Regions from separate parts of the Homo sapiens genome. Here region 1 is linked to region 2. The links are contacts of gene promoters, found by promoter capture Hi-C in human tissues and cell types (Jung and others, 2019). All regions are on one chromosome and are shown on one strand. The core of a region is centred on a gene start or on the middle of the fragment in contact, and the rest is flanking DNA. Distances in the headings are between cores, read along the strand shown.

The links. The method cuts DNA at HindIII sites, captures the fragments that hold promoters and counts their contacts. A contact is called where the count stands out against the background at its distance.
Region 1: a contact is called between a fragment that was not itself captured here and the fragment with the promoter of WNT6 in region 2, in 2 of the 25 tissues and cell types used here (liver and lymphoblastoid cells).

Annotation. Positions count from the first base shown.
Region 1 is chr2:218,183,882-218,186,895 of GRCh38, forward strand. LOC124906159 (small nucleolar RNA U13) reads right to left here and starts at 1,201; the gene lies at 1,098-1,201. The HindIII fragment of the contact is 7,861 bases long and covers 1-3,014 here.
Region 2 is chr2:218,858,291-218,861,170 of GRCh38, forward strand. It overlaps WNT6 (Wnt family member 6), which reads left to right and starts at 1,515. Exons shown (of 4, transcript NM_006522.4): 1 at 1,515-1,827. The coding sequence starts at 1,748. The HindIII fragment of the contact is 31,874 bases long and covers 1-2,880 here.

The sequences.
Region 1 (3,014 bases), core at 29-2,528, 670 kb before region 2:
TGACGTCCAGCCATAGTCTCTGACATCCAGCTGCTTCTCCTCTCTCTGCCAGCTGAGCCTGGAGTTTCCATGGGCACAGGATGGGGGGTGGGGCAGGCCATGGGTGATTTGGGAAAAGGCAACATTCATGCAGGAAAACAGAGATGTATGTTCTCACTTTAGGCCGTGGTACCAGGCTTTTCGGCTTGAGGGTGGGGCCCTCGCCAAGGACCCACCCTCTTCTGCCCAGAATTTCCCTGCCTCCTGTCCCTATCACAATGTCTCCAAAGTACAAATTCTATTGCTTTAAACATTTTAAGTGCATTTTAATTAAGTTTATGGCAGAAAAACCTGGCAAACACTACCTTACCCAAGTGAGGAAGGCTCATATCACCAGGGAGGATATATAGACCTCAGGTACAACTGATACAATGTGATGAGAAGGCACCTTATCTCTGGGGTATGCCCTCCAAAACCCATAACCTCAGAGGCATCATGAGAAAAACATCAGGCAGATTGAGGGACATTCTACAGGACACCCGGCCAGTATTTCTGAAGACTGTCAAAGTCATAAAAAACAAGAAAAAAACTGAGCAAAACTGTCACAGACCACAGGAGATTGGGGAGAGCTAACAACTAAATGAAATGTAGTGTCTTGGATTGGATCCTGGAATAGAAAGAGGGGATAATGGAAAAACAGGCCAAATCCAAATAAAATCTGGAGTTTAGTTAATACTTGCTTTTAAAGCACCTACAAATGCTCCTTGACTTGCCATGGTATTATGTCCTGATAAATCCAACATAGAGTGGAAATTTTTAAGTCAAATCATCATAAGTTGGAAACCATCTGTATTTTATTTTATTAAGTTTATTCTTTAAATCAAGAATAGGTTTTGAGCCAGGCTTGGTGGTTCATGCCTGTAATCCTAGTGCTTTGGGAGGCCGAGGTGGCAGGATCCCTTGAGCCCAGGAGTTCAACACCAGCCCGGACAACATGGAGAGCCCCTCATCTATTAAAAAAAAATGGCTTTGAATTTTGTCAAAGGCTTATGAAGATAGTTATATGACTTTTTTTATTCTGAGATACATTCATATGTGAATTATGTATATTTTGTTCATGTCAGATGAGCAACGTGCTGATGTTGTGACAAGGTTTGAGGGAGGCACATCTCATGCATGCACTTGGACACTGAATCATCATGCTTATGAGCTACAAAAGTATCTAGTATGGGAATGATATTGATGGTTTTCCGGTGTTGAATAATGCTTGAATTTTTGGAATAAATCCCACTTTATCATGAGAAAAAGTGAATCTGATAAAACCTAAAGTCCTTAAAGGCCTTCAAGGCTTTACTCTATCTCCCTGCCCTCACCCTCTCCCCCCATCCCACCTCATTACCCCTCTGGATTTGTTTGCTAGGGCTGCCATAACACAGTACCACAAACTGTGCAGCTTGAACAAACGGAAATTTCTTATCTCATAGTTTTGGAGACCAGAAGTTCGAGACCAAAATGTAGCAGGGTTAGTTCCTTCCAAAGGCTATAAGGGAGAATCTAGTCTGTTCTGTGCCTCTTCCCAGCTTTGGTGCTTGCTGGCAATCTTTGGTGTTCCTTGACCAGTAGAGGCATCACCCCAATCTCTGCCTTCCACTTCACGGTGCATTCTTCCTCTGTGCATTTCTCTGTGTCCCTTTTTATATGGACAGCAGTCATATTGGATTAGTGTCCCCCCTCTAATGACATTATCTTAACTAATAACATCTGCAATGACCCCAATTCCAGATAAGGCCACCTTCTGATGTACTGGAGTTTAGAACTTCAAAATATGAATTTGCGGGGAGAGGACACTATTCAACCCATAACACCCTCTAACCACTTCCACTTCACCCCTTGTAGCTCAGCTCCAGACATACTGGCCTTGTACAGCTCTTGCCTTAGGGCATTGACTCTGGCCATTCACCCCCTCAGAAAGCTCTTCCTTAGCTGCTCCTGCAGGTAATTCCCTCACCTCTTCTAAGTGTTTTCTCCAACCCACCTTCTTGCTGAGGCCCACACTGTCCCCCATCTGCATCTGCACCTCCCCAAGACTTCCTGATATCCCTTGCCCTCATCAATTTAACACATGCTTCTTTCCTTGCTGCAGTCATCCCTTCCTAACATCCTATACCATTTGCTTGTTTATTATAGAGGCTATTGTTTATTGTCTGCCTCCTCTGGTGCATATAAGCTTCACGAAGGCAGGGATCCGTATCCATTTTGACCACTGTATCCCATGTGCCTAGGAGACATTACACATCTCCTTGGCAAGTAGAGGGTACAATAAACAGTTGTTGAAAGCAAAGCAAAAGAAGAAAAGAAGGATTCTATTTCTAGAAATTGAGGACCCACCAGTGACTTGCCCTATGTTTCTCTTGCCTCCAGTCTCTGGGAAATAACACTGGAGGGAAAGTTAAGCCCACCACGGCTGTAAGAAATGACTTAGCAGAGCAGGAGACCACTAACTGTTCTGATAACACCTGAGATCACGCAAGGTTGCTTGGTGGGGGGAGGCGGGGGCAGGTGCAGAATCTACTCTTGGAGGCCAGGGCCTGGAGTTGCAAGACCAGTCCAGGAGAGGGCAGCATTATCTTCAAATCAAACCAAATAACTGGAGGAGCACAAGGAAGTAACCCACGTGAAAATTCCTCTACCCTATGGAAGTACAACTGTAAATTGGGTTCGGCAGCCCACGTCTAGAACTTAACACCACCCTTTAAAGTTTGCAAACCCTTTCACATACATTCATTCTCCCCTTAAAGTGCTCCTAGATGAGAGTTTAGCCATTGCCGGAGTGTGAGCGGAGTTTGCACTGAGCAATTAAACGATATCACCCATGTGGTCCCATGTTCCTCAACTTGTCACAGGTTCCAAGCACTTAACAGTCCTGTCCCCATGGTCAACCCCCATTTCCAGCCCACAGACCCTTCTTCCAGAAGGTTCTCAGCCTCTCTGAGTGAACCCACACTTTCAAATACAGCACATTTGGACTTACTGGC
Region 2 (2,880 bases), core at 265-2,764:
AGCTGATGCAGCCTGGACACCAGGGCCCTGACATGGAGCTTGCTTGCCGGCAAGTCCACACTTCTCCAGTTCTCTCACCTCTGTCTGCTCATTCCTTCCCCCATCAGCCTCCTCCCCTGGGGTCACATCCCTTGGCCCCTTGGCCTCATCTTGATCTACTTGTCCCCCCTCTCTGGGTGACTCAGGATCTTGTCTTCTCTCTCTGCTCACCAAGGTTGTTTGGAAGTGACCTCAGTCATCACTCTCTTGGAAGCGACCTCAGTCCCCACATTCAGGTCCCCCTCTCTACCAACAACCAGGAGCTTTCTTCTGGGCGCCTGACGTTTCTGCCATAGGGACTCGATCTGTCCTCCCCACTCCAGGACAGCTTTAAAGGTTGATGGTTGCTCTTGATGGTATGGCAGGGAGAATGTCCCACACCACCTGTCCCTTGGCACCCCGGGGCACGTCGGGGACGGGAGGGGCAGGGGCTGCTGCCCACTGCCAGCCGAATGGCATGATGAATGGAGCTGTCCCTCTTCCCCACGGAGCCTTTGATCTCCCCCTCGTGGGGAGGGGGCCAGGGGCATCAAAGACATTTTTGTGGCATTAGAAAATCTGATAAACGCCATCTCACCTGCAGCTGGCTCTCCCACCCCTTCTACCCGGGCCAGGTTGGGGGAGGAACTCGAGGCAGGGACTCTTGGACACGCGAGGCCGGGCTAAAGCGAATTCTGACCCCTCGATCTCTTGAAAGTCTGCGACCTCCATTCTCCCGCTCGCTTACAAGTGCCAGCGCTTGCGCGCACGCCCTGGAGCGGCTACTCTTGCCCTCTCATTTCCCCCACCTCCCCGCCCTAGAACGCGGGCTTGAGAGGTGGGATGGCTGGGGGAGCGAGAGCGGAGGCCCAGGGCTTCCTCCCTTCTTCAAGGAGAGGCTGACGAAGGGGCATGAGGCATCGAACAGGGACACGGAAAGAGATGACCCCTCCAGCATCCGCCTGTCGGGCGGTCCAGTTTGACAACCCTCGCCGAAGCACCCCGCGCCCCAGGCCAACTTCCTCTCTTGCCTCCGCGCCAGCATCTCCCTCCGCACCGCCCCCCGCCCCAAACTCCCTCATTCCTGGGAAGTTTTCTCTCTTTACAGTCAACAAACCTGTCAAACGTCTCCCTTCCAGCCCGTCCCCCATTCCTCAGCTCCTCTTTCTCCCCCCTCACCCCTCTCTACTCTTCTTCCCAGCCCTTCCTTGCCCCCGACTCCAGGCGGCCGCGAGCGGCGGGGGGCTCCAAGTCCGAGAGAGGCGAGGCGAGGGGGCGAAGCGGGCGGGTCCCACAGCCCGAAGCGCGCTGGGGCCCCGCCCCGGCACCCCGCTCCCGCCCTCCGCTGCGCTCCGCGCCAGCCGCCCCGGGGCGCACGGCTCGCTCCCGAGAGTCCCGCTGCCTGACTGTCGCAACTGCCACCTCCCTCCGGCCCCCTGCCCCCCGCCCCCGCCTCGGCCCCGCTCCCCTCCCACCTCCGCCCCCGGCTCTGATTTCTTCTCCCGAGCGAGCTCCGCAGGAGACACAGGCGCTGGCTGCCCCGTCCGCTCTCCGCCTCCGCCGCGCCCTCCTCGCCCGGGATGGGCCCCCCCGCCGCCGCCGGATCCCTCGCCTCCCGGCCGCCGCCGTTGCGCTCGCCGCGCTCGCACTGAAGCCCGGGCCCTCGCGCGCCGCGGTTCGCCCCGCAGCCTCGCCCCCTGCCCACCCGGGCGGCCGTAGGGCGGTCACGATGCTGCCGCCCTTACCCTCCCGCCTCGGGCTGCTGCTGCTGCTGCTCCTGTGCCCGGCGCACGTCGGCGGACTGTGGTGGTGAGTCCGGCTGTCCTGGCGCGGCTCTGGACCCTGGAGGGTGGGGACCCCGGGACCCAGGACAGACTGGGGTGTTCCGCAGCCTCCCGGCTCTACCTGCTCTCCGAGCCCAGCTTTCTGGCCTCGGCCGGGGGCGTTTCTGAACTCCACTTCGACGTTCCTAACCCTCGGGAACATTCTATTGTGTTTCCTCCTCCCGGGTTCTCTCCCACCCCCCGCCAAGTTATGCGCTCACCCAGCTCACCAAGGAACAGGCGAGTGGGTAGGAAAGATCTTTCGGGAAGACACATATCCGAGGAAAAGAATGTGTGAGGAGGGCCCTGGATTCAGGGTATGGGGCTGGATTTGGAGAAGACAGGAACAAGGTGGGAAGCCACAAGGCAGAGAGGGCCACACAGCTGCCCCTTCCCCGCCCTGCTTTGCCTACCAACCCACCGGCTTCTCTCTGGGCTCCTGAGGAGTGGGCCTTAGTGACGACAGAGGGAATATAAAGGGGAAAGTGAGTCAGGACCCTGGTTTTCTCTACCTCGTCCTCCCCAAGCAAGGAAAAGGAGGAGCGGAAGGAACCGGACCCAGGCGCCCGGCCCTTCCAGACCTGGGGGTCATGAATGAAAAAATATGTGCAGCCCGGGAGATACGGGACCGGGAGGGGTCCTGCGGGAAGGGAGAGGGGCCTGGCCAGCCAAGGGAAGGGGGCGTCTTCCCAGGCTTGGCCCTAGCTAGAAGGGACACCTAGGCAGCGAAGGTTGCGGGAGCTTCGAGCCTTGGGGGTGGGGGTGGGGCCGGGGCGGGGAAGGAGGGTGCCCGACCGGGACGGCTCAGAGATCCAGATCCAAAGGACTTTTTTCCCCCTAGGTCTCCAGAGCCGCAAACCCTCGCCCGGAATAGCTCAGTGTTTAGAGAGGAGAGACTTGGACAATAACGCTGACGGGTTAGCCAATCCTAAGAAGGCAGGGTCGTGTCTATTTGCATATTGCCATGTGATTGGCTGGATGCCGACCCTCCGCTCCTCCCTCGCCCCCCAGATTTGGAAGAGAGGCAGATCCCCGTGCT